Regions from separate parts of the Homo sapiens genome. Here all the other regions are linked to region 2. The links are contacts of gene promoters, found by promoter capture Hi-C in blood cells and fetal thymus (Javierre and others, 2016). All regions are on one chromosome and are shown on one strand. Each heading gives the region's core, a stretch centred on a gene start or on the middle of the fragment in contact. The rest is flanking DNA. Distances are from core to core; before and after follow the strand shown. Region 1 overlaps MAGED2 (MAGE family member D2). Region 2 holds the start of TSR2 (TSR2 ribosome maturation factor). Region 3 overlaps ITIH6 (inter-alpha-trypsin inhibitor heavy chain family member 6). Region 4 overlaps FAM120C (family with sequence similarity 120 member C).

Region 1 (5,000 bases), core at 1-2,500, 370 kb after region 2:
GGGTCTCAAAGGCCACAGAGGTCTCAAAGACCCCAGAGGCTCGGGAGGCACCTGCCACCCAGGCCTCATCTACTACTCAGCTGACTGATACCCAGGTTCTGGCAGCTGAAAACAAGAGTCTAGCAGCTGACACCAAGAAACAGAATGCTGACCCGCAGGCTGTGACAATGCCTGCCACTGAGACCAAAAAGGTCAGCCATGTGGCTGATACAAAGGTCAATACAAAGGCTCAGGAGACTGAGGCTGCACCCTCTCAGGCCCCAGCAGATGAACCTGAGCCTGAGAGTGCAGCTGCCCAGTCTCAGGAGAATCAGGATACTCGGCCCAAGGTCAAAGCCAAGAAAGCCCGAAAGGTAAGACCTCTGCAGTCACCACCCTTGGTTTTCTACTCCTCTCTCAGTTGATTCATTTGTTCTACAAACATTTAGAAAGATCCCTGTGCTCATCAGGGCTGTGGGGGGCACTGAGAGTAATGTGATGTAATTCCTGTCTTCAGAGAGCTTGCAGACTGATGGGGAGGTGCAATCTGAATGTAATGCAGTTTATGTTTACATAGTAGCTGCCCTGTATTAGGCCTTGAGCTAAGCACATTTATGCAGGTTATCTCATTAAATCTTGAAAGTAATTCTCATAGCCCCAATTTTATGGAGAAGGAAGCTGAGTTCCAGAGAGGTGAAGCGGCTTGTCTAGGATGGTTCAAGCAGAGCCAGTAGTGGGCACAGAAAGAGAAGAAGACTCAGCCTCCACCCACCCTTGGTTTGCTCCTGGCCTGCTAGGCAGATGAAACACCTGCTTGGAAGTCAGTGAGAAACAAATCCAGGGTTCAGCATGGCCAACATCTATTGAGTCAGGCTGTTACTACAGGGGTGGGATTAGCGGGTGCTTCCTGGAAGAGATAGGGAGAGGAAAAGGACCACTTGCTTCATCTGGTGACGTTGAGCTTCCTCTCTGTTGATGCAGGTGAAGCATCTGGATGGGGAAGAGGATGGCAGCAGTGATCAGAGTCAGGCTTCTGGAACCACAGGTGGCCGAAGGGTCTCAAAGGCCCTAATGGCCTCAATGGCCCGCAGGGCTTCAAGGGGTCCCATAGCCTTTTGGGCCCGCAGGGCATCAAGGACTCGGTTGGCTGCTTGGGCCCGGAGAGCCTTGCTCTCCCTGAGATCACCTAAAGCCCGTAGGGGCAAGGCTCGCCGTAGAGCTGCCAAGCTCCAGTCATCCCAAGAGCCTGAAGCACCACCACCTCGGGATGTGGCCCTTTTGCAAGGGAGGGTAAGAACTCTGTCGTTTTTATTCTGCCTTTTCTACTGCCTTGGCTGTCCTTTTCTTTGCCATCGTCTCAAGTTTTCTGCAAACTTGTTTTGGTCTTTCCATCTTTTTCTACTCTGCCAGGCAAATGATTTGGTGAAGTACCTTTTGGCTAAAGACCAGACGAAGATTCCCATCAAGCGCTCGGGTAAAGTCCTACCAATCCTCCCTCTGCCCTGAGCTCTGCCCTCCATTGCCCTTACACCATTGTGCTGGGGATATCCCCTGCTCTTATGCTTATGTCTCTGTCCTCCCAAAGTTCTGATTTGGCAGTGCTAGCATCTCTGTTGATAAGCACAGAACCGGGTTATGCCACCCTTGGTGTGGTTGGCAAAGAGTCTATAGCTTGGGCATCAGGGCCACCTGGCATCTCTTCAGTCAGGTGCTCACAACACTCTCCCCTTGCAGACATGCTGAAGGACATCATCAAAGAATACACTGATGTGTACCCCGAAATCATTGAACGAGCAGGCTATTCCTTGGAGAAGGTGAAGGGGCAGCCCTGGGGGATGGGCACAGTGGGGAAGCCTTGAATTGAACAAAAATGTACAAGTCCCTTCTCGGGAACCAAAGAGACCTGCTAATCCAGCTCCATCGCTATGCTGAGGGGCAGACAGTGGCCTAGGGAGGGGTGTAGATTAGCGATGGGTCACACAGCAAGTCAATGGTAAAAGTGCAGCTAGGACCCAAGACACCCAACTTAATCCTGGCTTCTGTCCGTCCATGGCAGCTCCTGCCATGTATTTGAGATTTCACCTCTCCCTTTCATTCCCCATTCTCTGTCTCCCTAGAGTCCCACTCACCACAAAGATGATGATGACAATAGTACATTTGCAGCGTGTTTACCGGGTGCCAGGCACTTAGCTATGTACTTTGTGCGTATTATCTCACTGATTTCTCACACATGCGAAACTCCTAGGTACATAGGGAGCTGCAGCATGCCCCGGAAGCTGAATTTTGTCATCTCACAAGCTGTTCTCCCCATCCACAGGTATTTGGGATTCAATTGAAGGAAATTGATAAGAATGACCACTTGTACATTCTTCTCAGCACCTTAGAGCCCACTGATGCAGGCATACTGGGAACGTAAGCTGGGAAAGGGCTGAGGTGTGGGGGGCTTCTGCTTTGGCCATGTGCTGCTACTCCTCCTTTGTCCTACTTCCCCCATCCTCTTAGAGAGTCAGGAAAGACAGGGTCTCAAAAGCCCCGTCCCAGTTCCTATGCATAGTTGGAGCCCTGCTTACAGTGGTGGCACCTGATTATGATTGACTGGAGGGTGTAGGAGCCTGGAGTGGGACATTCCTGCTGTCAGGTTTGCTGTCTCTGTAGAAGCTTCCCAGGAAAGCAGGCCTGTCGTTGCTTGCCTCTTCCTACTGGGTGCCTGGCCTGGCTTTGGCAGAGTGGTTCTCAAGGAGGGCTTCCTGGTGTGGGTGGATCAGGATGCATGAAGCGCAGGAGTGTCAGTGGGGCTGAAGGTTCTGGGACAGAAAGAAGGGACTCACATTGACTGAGTGCTTGTGTTGTACCAGGTTGGCAGCCATTCTTCCATCTTCTTGGAAACCCAGGGAAGGGAAAATATGATTTTTTCTATTTTACTGAAGAGTAGACTGAGGCTTGCAAGTCTAAGTGCCTTGCCAAGGGTGGCATAGAGCTGGAAGCAGAGACTGGGTAGAATTCTGTATCTGAGGAATCTGGGAGAGGCTAGCCTAGTGAGTTGGCTGGTGTGTCTGTTGCAGATGGCTGCTGAACATAAACCTCTCTGTCCTGTTATTTCTCTAGGACTAAGGACTCACCCAAGCTGGGTCTGCTCATGGTGCTTCTTAGCATCATCTTCATGAATGGAAATCGGTCCAGTGAGGGTGAGTGGCTGGGCTTGCAGCTGAATGGGTGGCTGTGGTCTAGATTCCATGTGTTCAATTTCTGTCCCTGTCTCCTCTTGCCTCCCCTCGCAGCTGTCATCTGGGAGGTGCTGCGCAAGTTGGGGCTGCGCCCTGGGTATGATTGGGCTCTCTCAGCGCTTGCTGTCCGTGTTGTCCTTTGGCAAGAGAGGACGGTCCTAGGATTGCATCAGTCTGGTGGTCTGGTGGAGCGGGTGGGGTGCTGGACTGGGTAGAGGGCCCAGGGTTCTGACCTGGGTGGATGATGGGTGAATGGTCCTGAACTCTCTGCTCCCTCTCTCAGTGTCTCTTGGGCTTCTATGGAGCTTCCCTCTTGTGCTGGAAACCTCTTTTCCATCTTGGAAATGCCTCTGCCCACATCTGGGAAGTGCCATAGCCTTGAGTGAATTTATTTGTTTATTTATTTTTCTTTTTCTTCTCTCAGGATACATCATTCACTCTTTGGGGACGTGAAGAAGCTCATCACTGATGAGTTTGTGAAGCAGAAGTAAGTATCTCTGTCTGGTGTTCATGTGTCCCATGCATTTGGCCTATTTCAGAACTGAGTGATAAAGCCGTGGTGCATGGATGCATGTGTCTATGTGTGTATGTATTTGCATATTTGCATGTATGCAGGTGGGATTATTCCTTGGGCGGTGATGGGAAACAGGAGCAGCACATGTTTCCTGATCTGTTACATATACCTCAACATTTGTCTTGAGACCAGTTCTGCAAGGGAGGGATTATCATTACCATCATTGTACGTATGCAGAAACTGAGGTTTAGAGAGGTGAAGTCATTTGGTCAGGGTTACACAGGTAGCAAGTAGAAGAGTTATGTTTAGAACTTGGCTCCAAAGCCTTAGTTCTTTTTATTCTGCTAACTAGAGCTTCATAGAAATTAATTTCCGTAAAGAAATGACATAGAATGGTAGCTTCAGGCAACCAGGTACCATGCTGGGGAGTTGACTTGTACATCTCATTTCATTTTCATAACTACCCTGCAGCTGTCATCCCATCCCCGTTTTACAGTTGAGGGACCTGGGGCTCCGAGAAGGGAGATCTGAGCATGGCCCACAGCTGGTATGGGCCTGGAGCCCAGTCCTCTTGAATTTCTGGCCAAAGCTCACCTATCCTTGGTCCTTGGAGGACATGCAAACACTCACACAGCCACACGCATGTGCACACAGAAACACACACAAAGGGTCAGGAATTCAGCATGTGTGAAGCATGCTGCTATTGGCTGTTCTTCCTCTGTAGTCTTTCTGGTCATTTTCTGTGGTGGACCTTTCTGGGCTTGGCCAGGCTGAGGCCAAGACACTTGCAGTGGGGTGTGCTCAGAGCAGGGGGCCCAAAGAATGGCTCCTCTGTTTACAACACACCCAACAGGAATCTGGGGTCATTGTGATGAGGGCGTCAAACTTGTGGCTTCCCTATGAACAAACGTCCCCCAACACCTCTATGTGGCTTCTGGGCAAGACCAGTGGGACAGGGCTCAATATTGGAAGAAAGACTGTAGTAATTAGTGGATGATGTTGCCATCTGGAGCCTGTCCAGTCTATGCATGGGTAGGCCATGAATGGTCTTAGAAATAAAGGCTTTGAACCTCTCTTTCCAAGGTACCTGGACTATGCCAGAGTCCCCAATAGCAATCCCCCTGAATATGAGTTCTTCTGGGGCCTGCGCTCTTACTATGAGACCAGCAAGATGAAAGTCCTCAAGTTTGCCTGCAAGGTAATTGGAGAGCTCCTTGAGCTTGGCAAGTCAAGAGCATGGGGTGCCCCTGGCTGGGGCAGGCTGTGTGCAGAGCAGCCTGCAG
Region 2 (6,277 bases), core at 2,519-5,018:
CCCTCCTCAGTCTCCTGAGTAGCTGGGACTACAGCCATCACACTCAGCTAATTAAAAAAAAAATTTTTTTGTAGAGATGGGGGGTCTTGCTTTGTTGCCCAGGATGGTCTCGAACTCCTGGCCTCAAGTGATCTGAGCCATTGCACCGAGTTCTAATCTCCCCTTCTTTATAAGGACATCAGTCATAACGGATTAGGGCCCACCCATGCAACCTCATTTTATCTTAATTACCTTTTTAAAGGCTCTATCTCCCAATACAGTCACATTCTGAGGTACTGGGGGTTAGGGTTTCTACATATGAATTTGGGGGGTGGTGGATACAATTTAGCTCATAACAGCAACCATTACCTCGTCTAATTTTTAGAACATTTTCGACACCCCCAAAAGTAGCCCTGAAGCCATTTAGAAGTCACACTCTATTCTTTCCCCATCCAAGCCCTGGGCAACCATTCATGTATTTTCTGTCTCTATAGATTTACCTATTCTGTATATTTCATATAAATGGTATCATACAATATGTGGTCTTTTTTGACTGGTCGGTAATTATACGTCCTCTTTCGTTCCTGATTTCAGTAATTTGAGTCTTCTTTCTTTTATTTCTTCCTCAGTCTAGCTAAGGGTTTGTAAATTTTGTTGATCTTTTCAAATAACTGACTTGGCCAGTTGCATTTGCTCACACCTGTAATCCCAGCATTTTGAGAGGCGAGGCAGGTGGATCGCTTGAAACCAGGAGTTCAAGACCAGCCTGGGCAACAAAGTGAGACACCCCCTCCCAACACACACACACACACACACACACACACACACACACACACACACAACCACACACACACACACACACACACACTAGCCAGGCATGGTGGCCTATTCCTGTAGTCCCAGCTAATCAGGAGGCAGAGGCAGGAGGATCCTTTGAGCCCAGGAGTTTGAGGCTGCAGTGAGCAATGTTTGTGCCACTGCATTCCAGCCTGGGCAACAAAAAAAGACTTCATCTCTGAAAAAAAAATAACCGCCCAGGTCCGGTGGCTCACGCCTGTAATCCAAACACTTGGGAAGGCTGAGGTGGGCAGCTCACTTGAGGTCAGGAGTTCAAGACCAGCCTGGCCAACATGGTGAAACCCTGTCTCTACTAAAAATACAAAAATTAACGGGGCATGGTGGCATATGCCTGTAATCCCAGCTACTCTGGAGGCTGAGGCAGGAGACTCCTTTGAACCTGGGAGGCAGAGGTTGTAGTGAGCTGAGATTGCACCACTGCACTTCAGCCTGGGTGACAGCACCAGACTCCATCTCAAAACAAACAAACAAACAAACAAAAAACAACAACTGACTTTTGGCTTCACTGTTTTTTCTTTTCTCTATTGTTTTTCAATTCTCTATTTCATTTATTTCTGTTCTATTATTTATTATTTCCTTTCTTATGCTTGCCTTGGGATTACTTTGCTCTTCTTTTTCTGGTTTTGTGAAGTGGAAGTGTAGGTTATTAATTTGATATCATTCTTTCATTTTTTATTTTTTTGAGACAGGGTCTTGCTCTGTCCCCCATGCTGGAGTGCAGTGGCACAATCACGGCTCACTGCAGCCTTGAGCTCCCAGGCTCAAGCAATCCTCCCACCTCAGCCTCCTGAGTGGCTGGTACTACACGCATATGCCACTATGCCCATCTAATTTTGTTTGTTCGTTTGTTTGTTTGAGACAGAGTCTCACTGTGTCGCCCAGGCTGGAGTGCAGTGGAGTGATCTCAGCTCACTGCAACCTCTGCCTACCGGGTTCAAGCGATTCTCGTGCTTCAGCCTCCCAAGTAGCTGGGATTACAGGTGTGTGTCACCATGCCTGGCTAACTTTTGCATTTTTAGTAGAGACAGGGTTTGTTCATATTGACCATGCTGGTCTCAAACTCCTGACCTCAGGTGATCTGCCCACCCAAAGTGCGGGAATTATAGGTGTGAGCCACCATGCCTGGCCTAGTTTTCAAATTTATTTATTTATTTAGTTTGAGACAGAGTCTCACTCTGTTTCCCAGGCTGGAGTGCAATGGCACCATCTCGGCTCACTGTAACCTCCGCCTCCCGGGTTCAAGCCATTCTCCTGCCTCAGCCTCCCAAGTAGCTGGGATTACAGGTGCTTGCCACCAGACCTGGCTAATTTTTGTATTTTTAGTAGAGACGGGGTTTCACCATCTTGGCCAGGCTGGTCTCGAACTCCTGACCTCAAGTGATCTGCCTGCCTTGGCCTCCCAAAGTGCTGTGATTACAAGCGTGAGCCACCACACCTGGCCTAATTTTTAAAATTGTTTTTAGAGATGGGGTCTCACTATGTTGCCCAGGCTGGTCTTGAACTCCTGAGCTCAAGCCATCCTCCCGCATCAACCTCCCAAAGTGCTATGATTACAGGCATGAGCCACCATGTCCGGCTCTTCTTTTTAGATATGCATGTTTACAGCTAAAGATTTCCCTCTAAGTTTTGCTTTAGCTGCATCTCATGCATTTTTTTATGTTTTTGTTTTCATTCATTTAAAAGTGTTTTCTAATTTGCTTTGTGATTTTTTTCTTTGACCCATTTATTGCTTAGGAGTGTGTTAATTTCCATATATTTGTGAATTTTGTAAGTTTCTTTTTACTGATTTTTAACTTCTTTCCATTGTGGTCAGACAACATACTTTGTATGTTCAATCCTGTTAAATCTATGGAGGCCTACTGTATGGCCTAGTGTATGATCTGTTCTGGAGAATGTTCTTGTGTACTTCAGAAAAACATGTACAGTTATCCCTGGGTATCCGTGGGAGACTGGTTCCACGACCTCCGGAGGATACCAAAATTCATAGATGCTCAAGTCCCTGATATAAAATGGCATAGTATTTGCGTATAACCTATGAATATTCTACTGTATACTTTAAATCATTTCCAGATGTGACTCACGCCTATAATCCCAGCAATTTGGGAGGCTGAGGCAAGTGGATTAAACCCAGGAGTTCGAGACCAGCCTGGGCAACATGGCGAAACCCTGTCTCTACTAAAAACACAAAAATTAGCTGGGAGTGGTGGTGGGCACCTGTAATCTCAGGTACTCGGGAGGCTGAGGCACGAGAATTGCTTGAAACCAGGAGACGGAGGTTGCAGTCAGCCGAGATGGCGCCACTGCACTCCAGCCTGGGCCACAGAGTGACACTCGGTCTCAAAAAAATAGATAAATAAATAATTTCCAGGTTACTTATAATGCCTAATAAAGTGTAAATGCTATGTATATAGCTGTTATACTGTACTGTTTAGGAGAATAATGTCAAGAAAAAAAGTATACACATGTTCAATGCAGATGCAATTTTTTCCTGAATATTTTCCATCTGAGGTTAGTTGAATTCACGGACGTGGACTGCCCCCCATAGGGAGAGCTGATTGTATTTTACTGTTGTTGGTTGCAGTATTCTATACAGATGTTAGGATGCTTTTTTTAAATGCAGATTTTTAAGGCTATACTCACTGAGTCCTCTGCCCCAGGGCCTGGAATCTGTATCTGTAATAAGTTCCCCACATATTTCCTCCGCAGTACCCACGGATCCGGAAACCATGGCCCCACACGTCCTTCAGGTCTGGTGTCCTTTGATTTAAGTGAGTAACTCTGGTGGTGTCATCGATCGCTCTGACAGATTTTTCTTTTGCTCTAGTCTTGCTGCCAGGTCTGCGGAAAAGAGAATCCTGTGTTCTCAGGCTCGGCTTGCGTCTCGTTCTGCCTGGGCCGAGCTACAGAGGGATTGGGCCGCCGGGACGTCACGTGGACTGGGGCCGGATAATGGCGGGCGCTGCAGAAGATGCGCGAGCTCTTTTCCGGGCTGGGGTCTGCGCGGCCCTGGAGGCCTGGCCGGCCTTGCAGGTCAGTGGGGCCAGGGCCAGGGCAAGGTCAAGGTTAGGGCCCGGGGCAGAACAGGAGTTGGTTGGGCTAGGTGCCTGAGGCTTGGCTAGGCGGCATAAGAGGAGTTGGCTGGGCGGCGTAAGCGGCCTCCAGGCTACTCCAGGTCTGCTCCCAAGCTGACTTGGTGGGCTTGGACCTGTGTTTACAGATCGCTGTGGAGAATGGCTTCGGGGGTGTGCACAGCCAGGAGAAGGCCAAGTGGCTGGGGGGTGCAGTGGAGGATTACTTCATGCGCAATGGTGAGTGAATGTGAGGCGCCGCGACCCGCCTGTGTGGGGGTGTGGAGAGGAGGAGCCCCATCCCGCAGAGCCTGCATTTCCTCTCGAGCAGTTGTGGATTGGTACCTAAAGGTGAGGTGGAATGAATTCAGCTTTTAGAATCAGAATCCTGGATTCCAGTGCTTTACGGGCTGTACCACTGACTCGTGGGATTACTCTGGACAAGGCAGTTTACCTCCCTGAGACTCAGTTTCCTAGTTTCTAAAATGCGTATAAAAGTATCCACCAGAGCGCTGTACAGTAGAAATATTATGCTAGTCACATATAATTTAAAATTTTTTAGTAGCCACTTTAATAAAGCAAAAAGCAGATGAAATCAATGTTAGTAAACTCGGTGTGTATGAAATATTTCAACATGTAGTCAGTATAAAACATTGAGATATTTTACATTTTTTAGTATTAAGTTTTCAAAATCTGGTATTTTACAGTTTTAGCACATTTCGATTTGGCCTAGCCATATTTCAAGTGCTCAGTAACCACCTGTGGCTGTTTGGACAGCAAAGATCTACACTGTAGGCTCGTCTTGAGGGATATACAAGAACAAGAGGCCCAGTAGAGGGCCTGTTGCATAGTATGGTTTTTAAAAAAATCTTCATTCAATTTCTAGCTTTGGAGATGACATTAGGCAGAGTCATCTCTCTCAAGAAAGTATACTATCCATTGAGGATCCACACACGTAAATAGTTACAACATTGATAGATTTTCTGATAAAGAGGAGCTCAGGGTGCATGGGGTAACAGGATGGGGAGACAGCTTCTTAGTGGAGGTGGTGAATTGGGCTGGGTCTTAGTGAGAAGGAGTTAACTAGGTGGGGGAAGCAGAGAGAGCAACACTCAAGTTCTGTGGCATGAGGGTATAATGTGTTATATTTGGAAAGTAGCAGGGAGCTCAGTATTGGAGTATGGGCGTGTGTGCGTGGGGGGTGGAGGAGTGGTAGAGAATGAAGCTGGGGTGTGGGAAGCCCCCTTGAAAAGCATAAGACATGGAAGCCCTTATGTGCCTTTGATTTTATCATTTAGGCCAGTGTTTGCCAAAATTCATGCTAACTAGTTCTGTTAGATGTTCAGTGAAGAAGCTTCTCCAGTTACCTTATGTAAGAAAAACTCTTGTTCTGCTCCCACTGAAAAGTCTTAACACTCATGAACATATTAAAGGCTTGGGTAAGAATAAGAACCACTAAAAAACCTGTTTGCTTTTGTTTCTCATTAGCTTTCTATGGATAGTGTCCCTTAAGACCCAGCAGAACAGATATTTCTCAAAGGCAAACTGTGAAACACTGCAGTGGCTGGTAAAAATTCGTGGGCAGGTTCTAGGGTGAGAAATAGGATGGGATTTGCTGGCTAGAAAGTTCAGGAAATAATCAGTATGAAGCATAACCTGGAGAGGGAAAGACTGATGAGAACGCTGTTTTTGTCTAGAAACTGATGAGGCCTGAAGTAGGACAGTGGCAACAGGCATGGAAAAGAAGGGGTGGAATAGGGCCTTGGAGATTGGTTGGCTGTAGACAGGGAGGGAAAAAGAGGCAAGTTCCTGGTTTGAGTTGATGGGTGGATTAGGTGTCTTTTCTCGGAGTAGAGGAACCCTGGAGGATGCGAAGCAGGTTTAAAGAGTAAGGTGATGAGTCTGGCTTTAGATATGGAAGATCTGCGGCATCTGTGAAACGTCCAGGCACAGAGTAGTCTCAGTTGGAGATAAATTCGGGGGATATTAAGTTTGAGTGGTAGGGAAAGCCAAGAGTGTGGATGAGCTCTCCCAGAGAAAGCACATAGAGGGGAGAGGGCTAGGAGCTTTGTGGGAGACTTTCTTGAGTTACTGTCTAATTCAGAAAAAGTAGAGCATAGGCCCATAGGTAACTGAAGCCCAGAGAGGAAGGTGGCTCAGTCAGAGTCACACAGTAGGATGTCAGTGTCAAGGCTATGATGATTTCATCATTGGAATTACTATGTCCATTTCTTCTTAACTATCCCATTGGTCTGTGGCTTCTTTTATCAGTGGAACCACAGTTGTGAAGGTTCTCTTCACTTCAAAAACTTCAGCTTTTGCATGATAGAAATTAACATGGATCATGGATCTTCACTGTGCTAGGCATTGTG
Region 3 (6,426 bases), core at 790-3,289, 350 kb after region 2:
TTTCTCCCCCACAGGATTGGTCCTACCCTCTGTTTTAACCTTTAAGGAGAATGGGGGAGGGATCTGCCATTTATAGCTTAGGGCTGAAGAGTGCGGCCTGCCCGGACTCAAATGGCCTGTGGGTCCAGGTTCCAGCTGCTGCTGTGTGTCCCTGGACAAGCGACTCATTCTCTCTAAGCCTCTGGCTCCTCATCTACAGCACAGGCATGACCACAGCTCCTACTTCATAGGCAGTGCTTGTGGGAAATAAATGAGGCCATTCATGTAAAGCGTTTGGAGCCATACCTGCATCTCAGTGAGTGCCACCTAATGCTAATGAGTAGAATGATCGTGCAATCTTCTCTGCACCACGTAGTTGGGAGGGAGGAATTCTCTCAAAGTCTCACAGTGGTCCTGAGCTGTAGATGGCATCTCGTCCATTTTACAGATGGGAAAAGTGAAGTCGAGCAATGGAGTGACTGGCTTTGATCGTCCCACATTAGGGGAGTGTCAGCACTGGGATTTGGATCCAGTCTGTGTGTCTGTCTGTGTCTGTTACATCCACTGTCCACCCCAGTGCCTCTCTGGGTCAACAGAGTCGAATGAGTTGGGACCTCCAATGCTAAACAGCTTTGGAGGGGCTGCCACATGAGCCAGGGATTTCTCTGCACCTGTCCTCTCATCTCTCAGATGAGGTGAGCAGGCCAGCTCCGTGATTCTCCAACCTGGCTGGATGTCAATGTCCCCTGAGACTGGTTGATGACACAGCTTCCTGGGCCCCACCCCCATGCTACTGAACCAGACCCTGAAGGCTGGGCTCCAGGAATCTGCATTTCTAGGAGCCCATGTTGTGATTCTGATGTAGCCAGTCTGGGCTTCCAAAACCTCTAGGTGACATTTGAAGCAAACTTCTGAGGCAGGATGCTTCTCTTCCCTCCAGGGCCTGAGATGGTGTCCTCCAGGGAGCCTGCACTTGCTGTGCACTCACTCTCCTGCCATTCTCAGTGGGGATCCAGGGAAAAGCGTGATTTGGCCAGTGTGGCTTCTACAGCCTTCAACATGGTTAACATATGATTTAATTTCATTAGCCCACCCAACAAACCCTCCCTTATCACTGATTTTTTTTTTTTTAGGGAAATCAAGAGTCTGGGAAGTTTCTAATGTGCCAGGTCATATAGCCTGTAAGGACCAGGCCAAGGTTAAAATCCAAATATTTTCACCTTCAAACATGCCCTCTTCTCACTGAATCAGGAAGGAACTTGGCAGTGAGTACAGAGCAGAAGTGGCACTAGAGGGAAACCCAGTGGAATCGATAAGGTTTTCATTCAGTGAAGGCCAGTCTGATGGGTGACCCATAGTGCTGCCCACATACTTGCATGGGCATTGGTGCGCAGACGGCCGGTCCTCAGGGGTGGTATGTGCACATAGGAGATGCCTGTCCTTTCTGACACTGTAACCTCTATGCTCAGCCTCTTCACCAATTGGCCAGGCCTCAGGCTCACCACCAGCTGGTACTGGCCCTGGTGCCGCTGAAGCAGTTCCTCATAGGCCAGGGAAAAAGTCACCTCTGTGCCTGCTGCCAGGCTGGTGGAGATGCGGAACTTCTCTGATTCCCGGTCCCTGGGCAGGAAAGGGAGGATGGTGGGAAGAGAAAGGGACCTTCAGAGGAGTACAGGGGCTGTTAGATGACCTAGTTTTGCTCCCCCCAACCCTGGTCCCAGCCGACCTGACTAGGCTTCTGGTTCAACTGAGTCACTGGCTCATGGTCCGTCATCCATGCATCCACTTATCAGTCTCTCTCTCCCTCCCTCCCTCATTCAGCCTCCTAAATATTCTGCTTGAGAAATTATCTCACAGGTGGTCCACCCTTAAGGGAACTTAGTCCATCAAAATCTGAATATATAACAGACCAACTAGGGTCTAATGATTCATTTTACAAAAGAGTTTTCAATTTACATACAATGCCTCAGCCCCTTCAAATAGACCCTCCTACTATCCTCTCCCCTATGCTTTTGAAGGAGCTTGTTTATATGGCAGTAACTCAGTTTGCTGGAGCCAAAGCTAAAGTGTTTGCTCCATGAAACTCTCTTGGAAGCTGGGAGGAAACACTGAAGGAAGACAATACATTTCTGCCCGCTGAATGGAACTCAGGAAACAAAATTCAATTTAGAAAAATCTCACTTGCATATAACCTTCCTGGAAGGTGCCAATTCTTAAATAAGCCACAATCTGCTGACAGTAGAAAAGTAGAAATGGGGAAGTAAATTTCCATTTATTGAACACCCACCCTGTTACAGGCTTTGATATTCATTAACTCACATCATCTTCACATGATCCTGTGAAGTAGAGGTCATGTCCCCACTCTGCAGAGATGGAGACTGAGGACCAGAGAGAACGTGCATCTCCCCTGATCACACAGCTAAGATGATTAAGTCATGTTTTGGACTGGATGGGGCCTTACCTGATGCCTACATGAGCAGCTGTCTTTCCCTGCTGATGGGCTTCTTCATAGATTTTCTTTGCCTGGTGCTTCTCTTTGACTTCTGCAATGTAGACTTTATTGTTGATGGTCCTAATGGGGCAGGAAAGAGGAGGGACAGTAGAGACAGAGAAAATAAAGAGTTGGTCAGAGACAGAGAAAGAGACACATGAGGTAGAAAGAGGAGGGTAGAGATAGGGAAAGAGAAAGAACAACACAGTGCCATAAAGCCCCAGTGTGAGCGGCAAGAAGAGAAGAAGAGGAAAGGAGAGGGAGATAACAGAGTGAAGTAGTTATCATTATCTCCATTTGTCAGATGGGGAAATAGAGGCCACACAGCATATGGTGGATCTGGTTGTTAGAGTCTTGTGTTTCCCAAAGTGTTGAATGAATTCTACCTTTTGGCACACAGCATAATTTTAGGTACGATATAACCGAATATTTTTATTATAATTGTTATGTATTTACAGTAATGTTTCTTAAATTACAACTAGCACATTAAACCCATGATCTCATAGATATTGTTGCTCAGAATAAAACTAACTCAGATCATCTCAGAAAGTATATCTATTGAAAAAATATATTGGGTAAATAATATGGCCATATTAATATAAAAATATATTAAGTAAATACTGTGGGTGGTAAAAGTGGTAAAAATTGTGAAAGAAGTGTGCAAATTGTTGCAAAGTCTTCTGGGCCTGACTAGGGAGGAGGCCTTGTCCTCAGGGAGCTCAGAGACTGATGAGTTACAAGCAGACTTGCTTACCCCCATTCTCCCCATTTCTCTAAGGAAGGTAATAAAGTGAAAAGAAGCTCAAAGAAGGGAGAGAACACTTTTGCCCAAGTCTTCAGGAAAGGGTCCTAGAGAAGGTAGTCTTGAAGCTAAGCCTGAAAGACAGGGAGGATATGGATAAATAATCCTCACTGGCCATGCCTTCTCAGTTTCCTCTGTTGGCTCTTTCTCTTCCTAACCTCTAAATCTTTGGAACACTCCAAGGCTCTGTTGTCAACCTTTTATCCTCTCCCCTCCCTCCCTCTCCCCTTCTGTCCTCTATTCTTTCTACATTGGCTCTCTAGGTGATGTCATTTAGCACCATGGCCTTAAATACCATTTATATACAGATGCCTCCCAAATATGTATCTCCAGTGTGGACTTGTGCCCTGAACTTCAGACCCATCCAATTTCTTTTTTTTTAAATTTTATTATTATTATACTTTAAGTTTTAGGGTACATGTGCACAATGTGCAGGTTAGTTACATATGGTGGCACATATACATCATGGAATACTATGCAGCCATAAAAATGATGAGTTCATGTCCTTTGTAGGGACATGGATGAAATTGGAAATCATCATTCTCAGTAAACTGTCACAGGAACAAAAAACCAATTTCTTACTTGACATCTCCACTAGGATGTTCCATAGACACCTCAAGCTGAACAGATCCAAAACTGAGCTCCTGACAACTCTCCCCTCCCAAATCTGCTCCTCCTCTGGTATCTTTGTTTCAGGACATAGTTGCTCAGCTAAAAATCTTAGAGTCATGTTGGATTCTCCTCTTTGTTTCACAATCCACATCCAATCCATCAGGGATTTTCAGCTCCATCTTTAGAAGACATCCACAATCTGACTGACTTCTTACCACTTTATTTGCTGCTGTACCCCTGGTGTCTGGAATATGGCTTGGCACAGAGGAGGTGCTCAACAATTATTTGTGGAGTGGACATCCTGGACAGACAGCAGGAAAACACAGAATGTGTTTCAGGGGACAGCAAGTAGTTAAATTTGACTGGAGTGGAGGGGCAGGGAAGGGAGGTATGGAGAGAAAGTTGGGGTGGTTGAGTGGGCCTAGAGAATAGGGGGCTTTGAACACAAGACTCAATGAGCTCATACAGCAGCAAAGACTTTTTGCCGTGGAGAATGGAGAGTCTTGGACAAATCTTGAAAAGGGGAAGGATGGATCAGAGCTGGCCTTTGAGGAGTGATAGTTGGGTGTCCTAGAGAAAGTTAGTGCAACTCTGTAGGACGCAAGTACAACAGTTTCCATTTTACAAGTGGAGTAACTGAGGCACAGGTATCAGGAAGTTGCTTGACCAAGGCAGCAGCTTCCAGGAGCACTGGGGGAAGATAGGCTGGTGGCAGAAGAGACCACTCAGGGAAGAAGTGTTTCTAGGCAGTTGAAACAGAGTATTGCTGTGGCTGGGCTAGTGTGGGGGTGGGCCGAGTTGGCACCTCCCCAAGGTCTCCTGGGGGGTGAGGGGGGTAGGGTGGAGCTGGTCTGGCAGCAGGACACTGGGGCCTCTGTGTGTGTGCTGCCTCCAGCCAGCATACTTTCCACAGAGTCTGCCCAAGAACATTTCCTCCAGCCTGCTTTGCTTAATTTTTTTTAAAAAAATCTGTTGGTGTTTTTTTCAACTGAAGCAAAAATCCAAATTCTGCCTGACTACTTGGCCCTTACATCATTTGACTGCCAGCTTCTCTGGTTAGCCCCCCATAGTCCAAACCCACGCCTGCTCTTTTTGGTCCTTGATTCCCCTGGGTCCCAACATGCAATGATCTTGGTCCCTTCAAATCTTACCCATATGGAAATCCTGCTTTCAGGGAGCCCTCCTTGACTGCCTCAGCACTTCTCCCCCAAATTCCCTGGCTCTGACTCCATACCAATCCCCTCCTCTAACCCAATCCTTCTCCAGGGGAAGTGCCAGGAGGTTCTTGATGGCACAGCCTAGGCCCACCCCAGGGCTGCTGTTTGAGGTTGTACAGATTATTGATGGCACAAGAACCTCCTCCCAACTAACAGGGACAAGCGGGGCTGAACAAGGGTGGATATTCTGCTTGTGCTGGGCTCACTTATCTGGTAAATCTGATAGTCCCTCTACCCAAATCCAGGGGCCTTTTTGTAATTCACACTAAAGTGTGATACTGGCTACTGAGGCCCCACTAAGCTTTCCCTTTATCTGCTCCAGCTCCCTTGTTTATCACCTCAACAGGGTACTGTCATCTACCAGGTCTAACAAGCCGAAAAAAGGTAAACACCATCTATATTTACTTACTCTCCACTACAGTCAGGTTGTTTCTCTTTCGATAGTCTCTCAGATCCACCACCACTGTCCTGCTCCCACCTTCAGCAACTCCTACGTGGATTCTGCCCCTGTTTGCCTACTCAGCTCCTGGCCACCTAGCCGGCCCCTCCAGTCTGCTACCACTTCACAATCACCTCTCCTTGCTTAACACCTTGCCATGTCTCCTTATTATGGCCCACACTTATTTCTAAAGAGGGGTGCACATGTCCCAGGGGATGCTGGAGACAAATCGAAAGGGAGTGGAAAAATAATATTCATACTCTATTTTAGGGCTTTTTCCTTATCCTTTAGGGATTAATATTTATATGCTTCATAATGTACCTAATATATTTGCTCAGCAGTATATTTATATAATGCATAAATGAATAAGTATATATGTTTTGAGAGTATAGGATCAAGTTTTTCCTGATAGGTGTGCAAACACATAAGATGGTTTGGAGACCATTAAGTGAGACCCAAGGAGGTGCTCTAACATTGAAAGTCCTCCACAGCCTAGTCTTTCTCTGCCTCTCACATCTCACTCTTCTACCACTCTTCTACCTCTTGTCTGTCCCTGACAGTACAGTGACACAGAAGTACTTGCAGTTCCCCTAATTAAGGGAACATTTGTGCCTTTATTCCTTTTTCCTGGATTCCTCCAGTCCTGCCCTCACCCTGGTTGCCTGGTGAAGATGTCCTATTTCAAGCCTCAGTTTAGGTGTTATCTCTCTGAGGTTTTCTCCACCAGCCTGGGAATAGGAAACCCACCATTGTCTTCTGGTCCACCTCACCATTCCAACCATTCCACATTCAGACTTCAGTTTTCCCCAGCATACTTTATTAAAGTAATCTGCTCACTGCTCCCCAACCCAATGCTCTTTTTTAGAGACAGTCTCACTCTGTCACC
Region 4 (6,729 bases), core at 2,389-4,888, 260 kb before region 2:
CTTTGCCTGGCACACAGGAGTCCAATACATTGGCTGAATAAATTAATTCCGTTGTTCATAGTACTTAGCACAGTGTCTGGCACAGAACAGGTGCTCAAAAATATTAACTGAACTGAAAAGCATTGTCCTGATAAGAAAAATGGGGTAAAATTAGGCTAGATAATGGTGGGCAGATCATGAAGGCATGCCATGGCATGCCATGCTAAGCTTAAAGCATGAGAGTGAGGTGATCAATGTCCAACCTACTAGGTGCACAAGATATTTTATACTTTTTTTTTTTAATATATACAGGGTCTTAACTCCGTCGCCCAGGCTGCAGTGCATTGGTGCGATCTCAGCTCACTGCAACCTCAACCTCTCAGGCTCAAGCAATCCTCCTGCCTCAGCCTCCCAAGTAGCTGGGACTACAGGTGCGCACCACCATGCCCCGCTACAAGATATTTTAGTCAATATAATAGTAGCTGGCATTTATATGGCATTTACTACATGCCATATGATGTTCCAAGCATATTACTTAAATCATTTAACACTCACAACAAAATTTGTGATGTAGGTATTATTGTTAAACTGAGGCACAGAGCAAGTAACTTGCCTAAGCTTACATAATGAGTACTTAGAAGAATAGGGATCTAAACCCAGGCAGTCTGGCTCCAAGGCCTGTGTTGTCAGCCATTATGCTACACAAACTAAATATAGGAAAAAATGTTCTAGAAAAAGTTATTAAAATATAACTATAAAAACGCAATTATACTGTTTTGAGATATGTTAAAGATGAAGGATTTTGGTGTCAAATATCTTTAGGTCCAAATCTTGGTCCAACCATGTTCTAGCAGTGTATCCTTGGGCCAGTAACTACACTGAGCCTGTTTTTTTGTTTTTTGGTTTTTGGCTATAAAAAGTAGAGATTTAGGCCAGGCGTGGTGGCTCACGCCTGTAATCCCAGCGCTTTGGGTGGCTGATGCAGGCAGATCACCTGAGGTCAGGAGTTCGAAACCAGTCTGGCCAACACGGTGAAACCCCGTCTCTACTAAAAATACAAAAATTAGCTGGGTGTAGTGGCACGCACCTGCAGTCCCAGCTACTTGGGAGGCTGAGGCAGGAGAATTGCTTGAACCCAGGAGGTGGAGGTTGTAATGAGGCAAGATCATGCCACTGTACTCCAATCTGGGCCACAGAGCAAGACTCTGTCTCAAAAAAAAAAAAAAAAAAAGAGATTTAATCTGTCATAGGAGTAGAGGAAAAAATAGAGATTAATACCTCTCCTGTTGGGTGGTTGTGAGGATTAAATGAATATTGGTGAGGTACCTCGCCCATGTGGTAGCTATTATTACTACCATCAAAGGGGAATATATTCTATAAGTGCATTGCTAAGTAGCTACAAAACTTCTGAGTAAAAGGAGTTTGGCAATTCAGTTTGCAATCTGAGTTTATTTAGATGGAATTAACATATAACATTGTATAGCACTGATTCTAAATTCTTCATCTGACCTGTAAAGCCCTCTGTAGTGATTCAGTCAGTAAAGGCAAATCAACCAATCTCTCTCACGGCAAACATTATTTTATATATGTCAAGTCCTAGAGCAAATCTCCGCCCTCTTAGAACTCATTTAAAAGAGAATTATGCGATATGAAAATACTATGAAAGAGAAAAAAATATGAGAGAGGTAAGAACAGAGTACTCTGGTAGTAAAGGGAAGGCTTCATCTACCACAGCTGACAGAGGCTGGCTAGGAAAGATTCTATAGGATAACTTTTGAGCAGGAATAAGGGGGAATTTGCTATGCAAAGGTCAAGATAAACATAAGAAAAATACTATGAGAGAGGACACGGTATGTCTAGGAAACTAAGAAAATATAGAATGGTTGGAACAGGGGTGGCCAGAGGTGAGCACCAGGTAAGTCTGGAGAGAGTTTGGGATCAGATTGTGAAGGGCGCTGTCTGCCATGCTGAGAAGTTTGGACTCGGTAGGGTGGGCAAATACACCTTTGGGCATATAACAGAGTCAGCTTCTGTTTTCAGAATCGTGTCTCTGGCAGCAATATGGCAGATGGAGTCCGGAGAGTGTTATGGTAAAGGAACAAGTTGACACTGTCTTCCTGGTTCAGGTAAGAAATTTTGGCAGCCTGAACTAAAGCAATGGGGGTGGAAACAGACAGAAGTAGCTGGACTCAGGAGACATTTCTGACGTAGAACTCAAAGGATCCGATGACCAAGTAAATGTGGGAAGTGACAGGAGAGTGAAGAATTGAGGACTCCACAGCTTCTGGCTTGAAACTGATGAAAGACACCATTCATAGAAAAAGAGAGTACCAGAAGTGAAACAAGTTTTGGGGAAACATAATGAGTTCCATTTTGGGTATTTTTTAGTTTAAGTGACCTAAAAGACATCAAGTAGTAGAGAGCTGAAAAGATGTGTTGAAAGCTCATGAGAGAGGTCGAGGGTAGAGACAGAGCAATAGGAATCATCAGAATTTAATTAATACTTAAAGCCACAATAATGGATGAGATTGCTCAGGAAACAAAAGCAGAAGAATATGACTAGGACAGAAGCCTTGAGGGCACCAACATTTAAAGAAGCAGGCAGAAGAGGAATAAGGAAAAGAGAAGAAAGAACTAGAGGGTTACAAGGAGAATCAGAAGTGAGCTGAATTATGAAATCCAAGGAAGATAGTTCAAGAATAGGATGGCTTGATATTAATGATCTTAAAGAGGACCAAGAAAGGCTAAGAATGGAAATGCATGTGGCAGCTTCAGAGTGGTGACATCAGATATAAAGTAGCACTAGGCTAGGGAATGGGAATTAATACAATCTGCTTCTTTAAGAATAATGGTGAATAGGGAAGAAAGGAGATAAAGATAATGGCTCGAAGGAATTAGAAAATAAAGGGGAAGTTTTTGTTTTTCAAAGATTATTTGTGCATGCTGTAAGTGAAAGAAACCAGAGAGGCAGAGACTGAAACTGTAGAAAGGACAGGGATTACTACTTTTGAATTCCTATAACATCACTGTATGACTCACTTACTTGGCACTTAGCTTACACATTTGCCTTGTACTGGCAGTATTGTACATTTAGCAATGCTGGCACAAACTAAGTGCTCAAAAAATCTACTTATGATTGTCTTCTATGCATATTGTCTAGCCAATAACAGTGTACGATCATACACAAGAATGTATAAAATGAAGGAAACAGGATGGTGGGATTGTGTAAACTTTGAGCAATATAAACCTAGAACAATAATTTTTATCCACCACTTACTAGTACTTAGAACAAAGAAAAATTATTTTACCTCTTGGTTACCTCAGTTACTCAACTGTAAAATGGGGAGAATACCATGCACCTTGCAAGCTCTTGAGGATTAAATGAGATATTTTAAAAGCTTTTAATATACAACTTGTTGCCTAAGAAGTAATTATTATTTTGATTATTTTCCAACGACTAGAGCATCTAGAAAAGTCAATGACTTTTCAGAATGTCTATGACTAATGGTAAGTAAACAATCAGGAGGCATAGCAGCCATTGCTTTATCGTATTCTAGAGAACCAAAGCACAAAATGGTATCTGTTCTCAAAGTCTGGTTATTCATATGCCACCAACATGATTTCTGCCATATCCACGTACTGCAACTTAATAGCTTTCTTTAAATCAACTCATTTTATGTAATCATAATCATTCTAAAAAAGTATAGCTGTGAAATGGTGAGTCTGATGTGCTGATCATTTTTTTCTAATTACACAGTAACCATTAAAACAAAGCATTCATTCCCTTAATCACCCTAAATTATCTCCTGAATCACAATCTAAAACTGCTTTAGGTTGCTTTATTTCTGAGACCCTTAGGAAGCAATCAGGCAAGCAATTTGTGGGTTTACTTAATTTTCCTTCTACTGATTATCATTTACAAAGCTTTGCAGAGCATATAAATGAAACCAACCAAATCAAAAAATTCATCCCAGCAATACACACTGGATCTTTTCATGGGAAGTCCGAAGTTGTCTAAAGCTAAACAGACAACCCAGCAATTTATCTATTATTTAATCCTTCCACCTCTACTTTCTGTATCACAAATGAAAATGAGACTGGGAATAAAGGCCCATCTTGTGGTCTAGCCTGAAGAACAAAACCAAAGAGGGGAGAGATACAGTAGTGGGTTTTGTTCTGAGGCACTGACATTCAGTCAAAAGAAATAGTAGGCATGCAGATCATCCAAGTGAAAAATTCCCACCTTCAAGACAGTAGAACACTCCTCTGAAAAGGGAAACCACAATCGGTTATTAATCAATACTTTCAAGTCTGTGCTACAATCCAGGGAGTTCTTTATCACTCCAGTAACAACAAAAAAGTCACTGACCAGAACCGAGAGAGAACTTCACTCATTAGTAACATCGACAGACACTTTAGATATGCAATTTTGGAGCTGGTCTTAAATCCATTATATTAAGAGCCACACTACACTCTTAAAAAGTCACTTCTACAATCCATTCTCTTAGGATCATTGACCTATTCACTATGGAAAAAAACAATGTACCCTGCACCCAAAGTACACAGGACATTATGGAGAATACAAAAAGATCAGAGTTTGTTTATAATCTAGCACAGGGAATAAGATTTATACATTCCCCAAGAGTGCTTCTAAGGACTAAAGAGGACTGCTGGGAATTTTTCCCCAACATTTTATTATGAAAAACTTCAAACACATGGCAAAGTTGAGATAATTTTACAGTGAACATCTGAATACCCGTGACTGAGATTCTACTATTTTTACTATACCTGATTTATCACATATCCATCTATTCAATCCATCTTTTTTATTAACTGCTGGGATTTTAAAAATGAGACTGTGTAGTGAAGTATGACAAAAATATACTAAGGGCTGCTTCTCTAAAGATTTTGACTGATGGGGTATATAAACAAAAAAAACTTTGGAAACCACAAACCCATACTCAAGTGTTCAACTCTCCTGCCAACCTCCAATCAAAATCTATTCAGAGCTCATAACTGGCTATTCGGGTCTCCACACCCTTGTCCGCTATCTGAACTATCTACAGCCCTCTTCATGGCTTAGCACCATCGGTGAAGCCTTCCCCAACTTTCACTCCCTTACTCAAAATTAACCATGCCCCCTATAGGGGCCACATTTTTCATCACTTGCAATTAGCCCACAGTATCTGCAATTTATTATCTCTTTCACTAAACCTTGTCCTCCTTGAGGACGGGATCCCCTTATTTACCTCTCAGTCCTCAGCAAGCAGCTAGTACTTAGCCTACAGCAAGCACTCAAATAAAAAAGTAAGTGAATGACCTGAACACGTCTTTACCCAGGAGCCAAGGAAGAGTTTAGCTGAGTGGGGAAATGATCTAATCACAGTGGCACTTTAGAAAGATTCATTTTAGAGCAGCACTGTTGTTTAGAGTATGAGCTTTGGAGGAAGACCACATAGGCACAAATCTCAGCCCTGCCACTTATCTCTGGGTGACTTTGGGCAAGTTTCTAAGCCCGTGCCTCAGTTTCCTCATTTGGAAAACAGGGATAATACTGCTTTCATAGGTTATTGCGAGGATGATGAGGTAATTTTTTTTAAAAGAAGTGCACAGATCGACACCTAAAACATAGTAAATATTCCATCAATGTGGTCACTATTGCCAGCAACCAGGTTAATAACAACGAGGTTAAAAAGTCCTTAAAAGCCTGGGTGGTAGCAGTGAAAACAAAGTGGAAAGAATGGCCATGAATAAAGAATCTACCTTAAAATGTTCAGTCAGAAGAGCAAGCAAATGTGTGCCTTTTTTTTTTTTTTTAACCTTGTATGAGATAGCTCACGTTTGGATTAGTTTAAATTAAAACAACTATAATCTAGGCACTCTAGGCACAGATTTGATGCTGAGAACGAGTCTAGCATGACTGGACTCTAGCCACAAGCTCTATAACCACTGCAAGCTTCTCTGTTTAGGTCTTTTAGTCTCTGAGCTAAAATTTCTTTCCTCCTCATTACTCCAGCCGACACCACTTCTTAAGTGATTCCCACAATCCCCTGTTCTGTCTAACTGTAAGGACAACCCCCAAGAACCTTGGTTGGGGAAATAGGTTTGCGGTTTCTTTCTACCCAACCCTGTACTACTTTTCTTTTTCTTCTTCCTGCCCACCTCCTTTACTTCCCAAGCCTTGCTATTCTCTACACGTAGGAACTTGAAACCTAAGAGTATGGGAAAGCAACAGAGCAGCAGCAGTGGTGCCAAGAACTGGGGATGCTGCCAAGCTGTTCCCCAGGCCCCATATGCAGTGACCCAACTACATGCAGATTGGACTTAACTGCCTATGGGGCCTTGCACACTTAATATTCCTTTTTGCTTCTGCTCATTTTCTTCCTCCCACTTAAAGCAGCCTCCTCCCAAGCTTGTGACTCATTCAAATCCAATCCACCTTTGAAGACCCAGGTGAGGTCCGACTTCTTCAGGGAAGCCTCCCCTGACCACTTTAGTCCAAAGATATCCCACCACTCCCACATACAGAAAACAGGAACTGTACTTACTGTCTGGACCATAAGGCATAATCACATACACATTGCTATAATTAAATGTTTCATGTGTATACATTTAACTTTCCAAGGGCATGAGCAGTGTCTCACATGTCTTTAAAACCCTTACACTCAGTGAGTTAATACTTGCTGAACAGTGACTGAATCAGTGGGTTTTTATGTGTTTAGGCTAAGGCAGGAGGAAGAAGATGCATGT

The links. Contacts are between HindIII fragments. The CHiCAGO score rates a contact against its expected background, and 5 or more counts as called.
Region 1: a contact is called between a fragment that was not itself captured here and the fragment with the promoter of TSR2 in region 2, in 1 of 17 cell types (fetal thymus). The highest score is 5.0, in fetal thymus.
Region 3: a fragment that was not itself captured here is called in contact with the fragment with the promoter of TSR2 in region 2 in 1 of 17 cell types (fetal thymus); the score reaches 5.2 in fetal thymus.
Region 4: a fragment that was not itself captured here is called in contact with the fragment with the promoter of TSR2 in region 2 in 1 of 17 cell types (naive CD8 T cells); the score reaches 5.0 in naive CD8 T cells.

What each region holds. Positions count from the first base shown.
Region 1 is chrX:54,809,861-54,814,860 of GRCh38, forward strand. It overlaps MAGED2 (MAGE family member D2), which reads left to right. Exons shown (of 13, transcript NM_177433.3): 3 at 1-353; 4 at 961-1,269; 5 at 1,390-1,453; 6 at 1,714-1,793; 7 at 2,297-2,391; 8 at 3,085-3,164; 9 at 3,258-3,300; 10 at 3,628-3,690; 11 at 4,801-4,915. It overlaps SNORA11 (small nucleolar RNA, H/ACA box 11), which reads left to right and starts at 4,510; the gene lies at 4,510-4,640. The HindIII fragment of the contact is 2,769 bases long and covers 1-2,635 here.
Region 2 is chrX:54,436,636-54,442,912 of GRCh38, forward strand. TSR2 (TSR2 ribosome maturation factor) reads left to right here and starts at 3,769. Exons shown (of 5, transcript NM_058163.3): 1 at 3,769-3,867; 2 at 4,055-4,145. The coding sequence starts at 3,787. RefSeq lists an enhancer at 3,487-3,536. The HindIII fragment of the contact is 25,574 bases long and covers 1-5,257 here.
Region 3 is chrX:54,789,486-54,795,911 of GRCh38, forward strand. ITIH6 (inter-alpha-trypsin inhibitor heavy chain family member 6) reads right to left here. Exons shown (of 13, transcript NM_198510.3): 3 at 2,441-2,551; 4 at 1,352-1,599. Among named protein-coding and RNA genes, the nearest start is that of ITIH6, 5.6 kb to the right of the region's middle. The HindIII fragment of the contact is 6,722 bases long and covers 1-5,400 here.
Region 4 is chrX:54,175,242-54,181,970 of GRCh38, forward strand. The region is part of intron 1 of FAM120C (family with sequence similarity 120 member C); the gene reads right to left. Among named protein-coding and RNA genes, the nearest start is that of FAM120C, 4.6 kb to the right of the region's middle. The HindIII fragment of the contact is 526 bases long and covers 3,376-3,901 here.